Regions from separate parts of the Homo sapiens genome. Here region 1 is linked to region 2. The links are contacts of gene promoters, found by promoter capture Hi-C in blood cells and fetal thymus (Javierre and others, 2016). All regions are on one chromosome and are shown on one strand. Each heading gives the region's core, a stretch centred on a gene start or on the middle of the fragment in contact. The rest is flanking DNA. Distances are from core to core; before and after follow the strand shown.

Evidence for each region. Contacts are between HindIII fragments. The CHiCAGO score rates a contact against its expected background, and 5 or more counts as called.
Region 1: a fragment that was not itself captured here is called in contact with the fragment with the promoter of FRZB in region 2 in 1 of 17 cell types (fetal thymus); the score reaches 5.3 in fetal thymus.

Annotation. Positions count from the first base shown.
Region 1 is chr2:182,666,495-182,670,394 of GRCh38, forward strand. It overlaps LOC101929976 (a long non-coding RNA gene), which reads right to left. Exons shown (of 7, transcript XR_427200.3): 7 at 56-86. It also overlaps a transcript of PDE1A not described here. Among named protein-coding and RNA genes, the nearest start is that of DNAJC10, 48 kb to the right of the region's middle. The HindIII fragment of the contact is 3,687 bases long and covers 160-3,846 here.
Region 2 is chr2:182,864,298-182,868,546 of GRCh38, forward strand. It overlaps FRZB (frizzled related protein), which reads right to left and starts at 2,340. Exons shown (of 6, transcript NM_001463.4): 1 at 1,778-2,340. The coding sequence starts at 2,255. RefSeq lists an enhancer at 1,503-2,471. The HindIII fragment of the contact is 6,424 bases long and covers 1-4,249 here.

The DNA.
Region 1 (3,900 bases), core at 753-3,252, 200 kb before region 2:
CTACTCAGGAGGCTGATGCAGGAGAATCGCTTGAACCCGGGAGGCAGAGGTTGCAGTGAGCTGAGATCATGCCATTGCACTCCAGCCTAGGAAACAACAGTAAAACTCTGTCTCAAAAAAAAAAAAAAATTATAGACAATAACATACTCAAAAGGGTAAAGCTTGACAAGGTAGCAAGAAACAGAGATTTTGCCAATTGCCAAGTATGTCTATTGCAACTCTACATTCAGGAACCAGGGAAGAAATTACCAGCTAACTTCTACCTCTATCTAAGCCTTTGTCTATCACCTGGCCACCATAAGCTCCCATTTGACTGGTACAGTATAGCAGGTTTGGAGTGCCCAGGAATAGCATCAGTTCATATTAAGTGTCTAGGAATATCTGAATAGTCTGGGTATTTCCTTTTTCCCAGTACACAGTCACGGTCTAGGTACTTCCTTTTTCCCAGTGCACAGTCCTGCTAGTAAGTCACCCTTTGGGAAAGAATCAGGGGAAATTTTACATTCTATATTTGGTTCTGCTGTAGCATCCTTCTTCAAAAGAACCTGGCCTCCCCTTGAATCAGGGGGTTCTAACCTGTGAACTGGTTTAGCTCTAAAAAGTAGGTAGAAATCCATCACTCTCCACTAGGTGGCTCAAGTCAGGTTTTTAGCCACCAGACCTGCAGTTTCTGTTTTATAAATTAAGCAGCTTTTTAGTAGGCTGCTCATCATTTTCATTTCTGGTAACCACATGGTCAATTAGTCACTACCAAAAATTCCTGCAGGTCTAAATAGTCTGATTACCTTTACAGTAATCAGAATCTGCCAGCCTTTATAACAAATATGGCTGCTTTATCTTTGGCAGTTAAGTATTGTCCATTGGCCTCTGCTCTTTCAGGGTCCCATCATCCCTATTGGAATCAGGGAACCCATCACAATGGTGGTATTTCCCACCATCATATGTGGCTTACATATGAGAGCCACTACAGTGCTCTTCAGAGTGTGGGTGTTCCCCTCACTAATGTGTTTCTCACTGCTTTCAAGGGAGTATCCTCTGAGTCTCCTCAGACAATACAGTTGAGGGTAGAGGGACACAGCACCCATATAACAAATCATTCCTGTTCGAAGTCTTTGGAGTCCTAAACTTTTAGATTCCTTTCTGCACATGTGAAGTCAACAAACATTTTCTGTAAAGGACCAGATTGTAAATATTTTAGGCTTTGTGAGTCAACAGTCCAAACAGAAGAGATTCTGTCACAGAGGGATTAGAATTGCTATATCTGGAAAAGACAGAACAATGTCAATGTTCAACTTCCAAAACTGCAACCCAAAATGAGAGATTTTATAAGTTCCAAAATCTCTTTCTTTCAAATGAAAAGTAAACCCTTGGGATCTGAAAATAGGGCTTTATTAGAAGCCATAGTGTAAAGAATACTTGAGATATAATATCAAGGAAGTCCCACCAGAGATATTAGAGTCTGCTAAGGGAAAGGATTGAAGGAGGGAAGTGGGATGGTGCTGATGAAGATGCAACACCCTTCCCAACCCATGGACTTCAGTCAAAGGGAAAAGAGATTCCTAAATGGGTGGAGAAGGAATCCAAAATTATCTGGGAGGCTGCTCTGTCCTTCTCAGTATAGCATGGCTGAGAGGTATTAGTCCATGATCAGAGAGCAGTGAGTATTTAAGAGTAGCCTGAGGTAGCACCAATTCTCCACAGCTGACTTATGATTCCCAAGGGCTCAGAGACGTAGGATTTGTAGGGGTTCTGAGAAGGATGCTGGACAACTAGAGATCTGCAGTCAAGACAGGAGATATGGGGCAGGCACATCACAACAGTGACAAATGGTAGGAACCATGGACTTAGGCAGAGGGCACTTACAGATGAGTGTTATAAGCATACCTCTGCAAGATTAGACCAGACCAATCAACTTCACTTCAGTGGAGACTAGCATGAGACCGAAAAAAAGGCAAAAAAAACCAATAGAGGCCACCAAGAGTAACTGTAAGCCACACACACATGCATACCCCTAGACAGTCTCTAGAAATGGAGGAAATGGAAGAGAGATGTCAGGTTTGAGCCCAAACTGAGGTTCAAGGGGGAGTTGGTGGATGACTGGTAGGTAGTTGAAAGAACACTCAGGGGGCTGCAGTCAGGTGAAATATGGCTTTATTCTCTCTCTGGGCACAAGCCTTTGTCTCGGCTGCCTGCTCCTGCCACAGCCCTTCTCAGCAGCCAGCTCTTCGGCTCCTGCTGCCCCAACGCATACAGCTGCACTCCCTGGAGCACTCACCATTTCCTGGCTCCCCACTGTCTGCCTGCAAGGTGGTTAGCTCTGGCTCTCTCTTACAGAGTCAGCAGCTTTACTCTCTCTCTCTCTCCTGCCTCGTGCGAGCCGGTGGCAGCAGGGCAGTTACACTCCTTACAGACAACAGTGGCTCAGAGCCAAGTATGAGCTTAACAAACAGGTTACATAATGCATGGGACTGTGCACCTGTGCTCCAATCCCACTCATCATGCTGTACTGGATGTTTATCTTGGCCTATTCTTGACCACAGCATATCCATTTTCCTTTCAAGAGGCCTTTGATAGAGGAGAGAAACAGCCTTTCAGGAAGGTTGAACTTTGAATTAACTGTTTCCCCCAAAGAAGCTATTCTAGACTGAAAAGACCAAATAACCTTTAATAAGGCAAGATTAAGTGTACTGACCCTTCACTCACCCCAGACACACTATTTACAGGACTCCAAAGATCATTCCTCAAAACAAAGGAATACTACTTGTTTTGGCCCATTTTGTTTGTTAGGTGTGACTTTTAATACAATAGCCCAGTAGGGTCAGGTGTTGCTTAATTAAAGTGATGGGAATTATTGTTTTGACAAAGTCAAAGACTGTTCCCAGATGTGGGTTTTTAACCCATCTTTTAACAAATATTCCCACCAGTCAAGGAAAATTTGTTGAATTTTGCTATAGTTTCCATGTATTAAAAGTTGGAAGTTTGTTTTGTTTTCTATTTTCAGTCTCTTCTCTGACTTTACCTTTTGTTAAGATCTCACCCTTCTTTAAAACAGCAACCTTCGCTATTTTTCCCTATTAAGCATGTTATTTCTTTCCCATCTTCCTGATTAAAGATTTTTAATGAACTCCCCATCACTCATATTTTCGTCATTAATTCTGTTTATAATCCCTTGTATTTTACATTCTATTCGCACAGCTCTTGACTGCCTTATCATAGGTGGTTCCCACACTTCTTAACTCTCTCCTTTGAATCCACCTTTTACGCCATGTGTATGGTAAACACCCTGATAGCAATGACATAAGCATACCCTGAAAATGCTCCCATATGGCAGACGCACCTGCGTGTGCGTTCTGAGCTAAGGAATCCGGGAGTGGCCAACCCAGAGATTCATTCCTTGTCTATTAGGAACATCTGAGCCCTCGGAGCATCCCATGGGAACATGGGCCACACACGGGCCCATTTGGAGCACATGAAGGTTGCCAGGTGCAGGTCATTAAGGGATGATGGTGTTAAGTAAAAATGCTATATAAACCACATGCTGTTTGCAAGCAGTTTTGGTTTTCCTGGCCAGCTCACTGCCACAGGGCCATGCAGATATCTTGTCCAGCCCACCACCACTGGATTCTCTCTTCCCTGTATATAAGTGCCCAGTACAACCCCATGTCTCGTTTGCTGGCTCTGGGTCTCTTTTTGGCTTCTTGAATCAAAAGGTACTCAGGGGGTTTACCCTACACCTGTTTAGAGAAAAAATTCCAAGGTCTTCAGTTGTTCCCACCTAAACCATTTAACTGTTTTACAAGGACTAGTATTTCTCAATCCTTAATTGCACACTAAAGACTCCTAGGAAGCTTGAAAAATTAATATAGAGTCCTGAGCTCTACAACAGGGCAAGTAAATCAG
Region 2 (4,249 bases), core at 1,090-3,589:
TTTACGGGGAGGAATGCATTTCAGCCTGAACCACTGCCACCTCATTCCTAGCCCTTGGCCTGAGAGGAGCACCTGCATTTAACTGATTCTAAGTGCCTGGCAAACCAGAGCGGCAACTGCACTGAGCACTTCCAGACTCTGCAGTCTGTGACTTTAGTGAGTACGAAGCCTCAAGCATGCTCTTTTAGCAAAGATTAATAGCAAATACATTTCTGTGATGATTTTGCACAACTAGCTTTTGGTTCTTGATTAAAATCAAGAAGACAATAGGTATATTCAAAAAGTGATAAACTAAGTGAGGTCACCATTAAAAAGTTCTTGAAATTCTTCTGTTTATTTTTTTTCCTTCAGCTATTTTTACAATTACTTCTCCTTCTCTCACTTTGTTAAATGAGTCAACGTGCACAGAAGGTAATTTTTCCAAATCAATTTCCCGATAACTAAGAATTACTACCTGGAAATGGACTGGGGACATGCGCCTAGACTGCGCAAGTTGAAAGAGGAAGGAAAGTTGATGCCCAAGAAATAAACAGATGGAGGCAACCAAGTCAACACATCTAAGAACAGAGTTGTTGGGGGGTGGGGGATGTGGTATGAAAGAGGACCACTCATGAAAAAAAATTGCCTTCTTTATAAAATATATGAAGGGTAAAATTTGAGGTTGGGTTAGTTGGTAGAAGTAATACTGAGTTAGAATTAAATGGACCATAATGAAGTAGGTTTAGTTGGGGTCTTAAAGTTACAAATGTCATAATTAGACTAAACACTAGTGAGAAAACAACTTGTGATTGACTCCATTAAATTTAGAGCTGCAATAAAGTTTTATGGTAGGGAAAGACTGAAATGACTGTGGTTGGTGCACACACGGAAAAGGAGCATGAAATAAGGTATTAAAGACAATTTTTTTTTCAAAACATGAGAGTGGAATAAGGGGTGAGATTTAAAATAACATTACGTGAGTGTATGATAACACGCCTTAAATATAACTCCTTTCATCTGTATGCCACTTATAAAATGACTTGAAGGCATGTGGGCATGTGAAAAGAGCTCAGTAATTTCAGTCTGCCAGCTCTATGGCAAGCCACAGAAGCTAATTAACAGTGCATAGCAATGTTTCACAATTGTTTCATTCTGGAATGGAAGAACAATTTATCTCATTGAAAGGAGGGGGAAATTTAAGGTGAAGGTAATTGCTCAAACTGGATCTTGAGCAAACACATACCCCTAACATCTGTCGGTTAGAGTAAGGTTATTGAAATTATCTTGGCATTTTTAATTAGAAGAAAATGGGGCTTCAGTTTTCTGTTTCCTCCACACAATCTTAACAAGCATCTAAGACACTAAAGATACAGAAACCTGATGACTGAGATTGCCTGAGAATCAGCAAAGAAAACCCAATGATTATAAACACATTTTAAAAGAAAAAGAGCATCACTTTACAAAATGTGGCTACTTGCACATGTAAGGAGTTGAAGTGAAGGATTCCTGTGGAGTAGAAGTGTGATGGGTTTGGAATGCATGGATTGTTTTAGAAAGATCGCCTATTGGAACACAGTGCCAGAGTGCATCAGTTTGGAAGGTGATAAGGTGAGGGTTTTTTTGTTTTTGTTTTTGAAAAAAGAAGAAAGAAGAAGAAGGGTCTTTGATAGAGGAGCAGTTATGGGAGAGATTAAGTGATCCGAAGAGAAAAAAATTAGAGAGTAAAGGCTAGTAACAAGGACTCCAAGAATTGAGGAGGCTGTAGGGTAAGGGAAGGGTGGGCCGTGTCAAAACTCACCAGCTCCGTCCGCAGTAACGATGGCCTCGGGAGAGATGCACACGCCCCTGTCGTACACTGGCAGCTCCTCGCAGGCCAGGTTCTCCGGCCACGAGTGGCGGTACTTGATGAGTATGGGCTCACAGCCCTGCCGGGCCCGCTCGCACACAGACTTACAGGGCTTGATGGGCTCGTGCTGGAAGTCAATGGTGCAGATGGGCGCGTACATGGCACAGAGGAAGAAGAGCAGATCGGGGCTGCAGTGGGTGCCCAGCAGACCTTCGAACTGCTCGATGGCCAGGATGGCGTTGGCCTGAGTGCTGTGGTGCAGGTGGTTGGGCATCTTAGTCATGTTCCAGGGCAGGGACTTGCACAGGGGGATGCGGACGGGCTCACAGGCTGCAGCCCGAGCCCCGGGCACCCGGAGCAGGCAGAGAGCAGCCAGGGCAAGCAGCCCGGCCCGCAGCAGCAGCATCCCTCCCGGGCTGCCGCAGACCATGATCCCGGCAGGATGGGGCAGGGTGCAGCCGCGCAGTGGACGCCAAAAGGCCCGCTCCGCCGTCTCCGCCTCCCCCGCTGCAAGTGGACACAAGGATCTGGGAGCTTCTCCTCCCCCGGCAATCACCGCTTCCTTGGATCAAATTCCCCCAATGGGGTCCCACGAGCTTTACCGAGCTCCAGCCACCGCCCCTGCCGCCCAGGCTGCTCTTTCCCAACGTCTAAGCCTTCGGAAGCAGCAACATCTATTTATTCCTCTCCCTCTGGCAGAAGCATCAGACTTCGCAGATCAGTCAGATAAGAGGGACACGAGAGGAGGCGAGGAAGACATAAAAACAAAAGTAGAATTCAGCTGAGAGCTAGTTGGAGCTCTGGGGTGTCTCCTCCCCTAGATCACGCACACAAAAAGATGCTAAAGAAAGCATTAAATTCCCCAAAGTGAGGAGGACAGAGGGGTTGGGGGGAAGGAGGGAGGAAAAGCTCCTAATGGGAGAGAAGGGTGCAGTAAGAGTTTACAAGTCCTGTGTGGGCTAAGAGCTGCGGCCGCCGCTGCGGCTGCGACCCTGGCTGGCAGGAGGGACGCTCAGGAGGAGCCCCGCAGGGACGTCTGTGCCTCTGCCCGGGCGGCTCTGCACTTTCCTACCTCCCGCCTGAGAGGGAGCTCCGCCCCTGGGGCAGTCTCTGCCCTCCAGTGCCGGCTGCTCTTCCCGAGAATGGAGTGGGCGCCCGGGGAAGAGAAGGCCTGGGAGTCGCAGGCGGTGGGGTGCGAAGCCGTGCGAGTGCGAGACCCCAAGACAGCGCCGAGTCGAGCGCGCCCTCACACTAGGGAACCCGTCTTTGGCCCCAGAAACGAGCCCCTAGCCCCTCACTGAAGAGCCCACCCCAATTCCCTACGGAAAAGTCCCCCTAGTTCCCCACTTGGGAACCCACCCGAGACCCTCCTTCCTGGAGGTATTTCCTTTAAGCAAACTACAGCTTTTCCTCTGCAATCACTGGCTCTGCAGAAAGTCAGACCTGGTGGGGGGAAAGGCTTAAGCAATGTCACTTTGTCCAAGTAGCGGAAAACACAGACCCCTGCGAGCAACGGTGGAGCCATATCAACCCAGAGCTAGTGACTACAGAGGTCTCCATTTTCAATAACTGCGGGGGAGGAGGTGGGGGGAGGATTGCCTTTAAAAAAAAAAAAAAAGAGAGAGAGAAACAAAGAAATGCTGTTCATGACTACAAATAGGCCACCAGAAGCAAGGAAAAGGGGTTTTTTCCTTCTATTCCCGCCCCCCCCACCTAGTGGAATTAGAACTCTTGAGCTTTGCTCCTTAAGGGTTAACGTGGAAACTAACAGCTCTAATACACTTGGACTTTTTTTTTCTGATTTTGCTCACGGATAACATGGCAGATATTATTTGTTATTCTCAGCAACAATTCTGCCCGACACTTAAAAAAAAAGTGTAGGAAAACGACATCACGCAGGTAATAATGATGATTATAACAACAATCAAAACCTTTCCATCCAGATGAGTTCAATCTGGAGGAGAAAATGGAAAACAGATCCCCTCCTGGTCTGCTTCTTCCACTAATGAGCTCCCTCTTCCCCCCACCCCCGCCCCACTCTACCCTTTCAGCTTATATTGTAAATGGAATGACCTGCAGAGGCCTTCACACTATGCCCTCTCAATGGGAAATCACTGAGCAAAAGGATTGCCGAATGTCAGAAAACACAGCCTTCATTGAGAGGAGAAGGAAACAAAACCTGAAACAAAACAGGAAGTCACCTTTGCTCTGCATCACTGAAATATTTCTCTGCTTCAATTTAGCCATCTCTCACCGTCCATAACAAGCAGAGAAATATGTCCCCACTTCAGAGCACATAGTGAGATGCTCATTTTCATTCCCTAGAGTGACTTGACAGCACTTATAAAATGTCAATGCTAACTTGAGTTATGGAATTTTATATCTAAAATGATCATAAACAGCAGTTTGTGACTGCTGTAAATT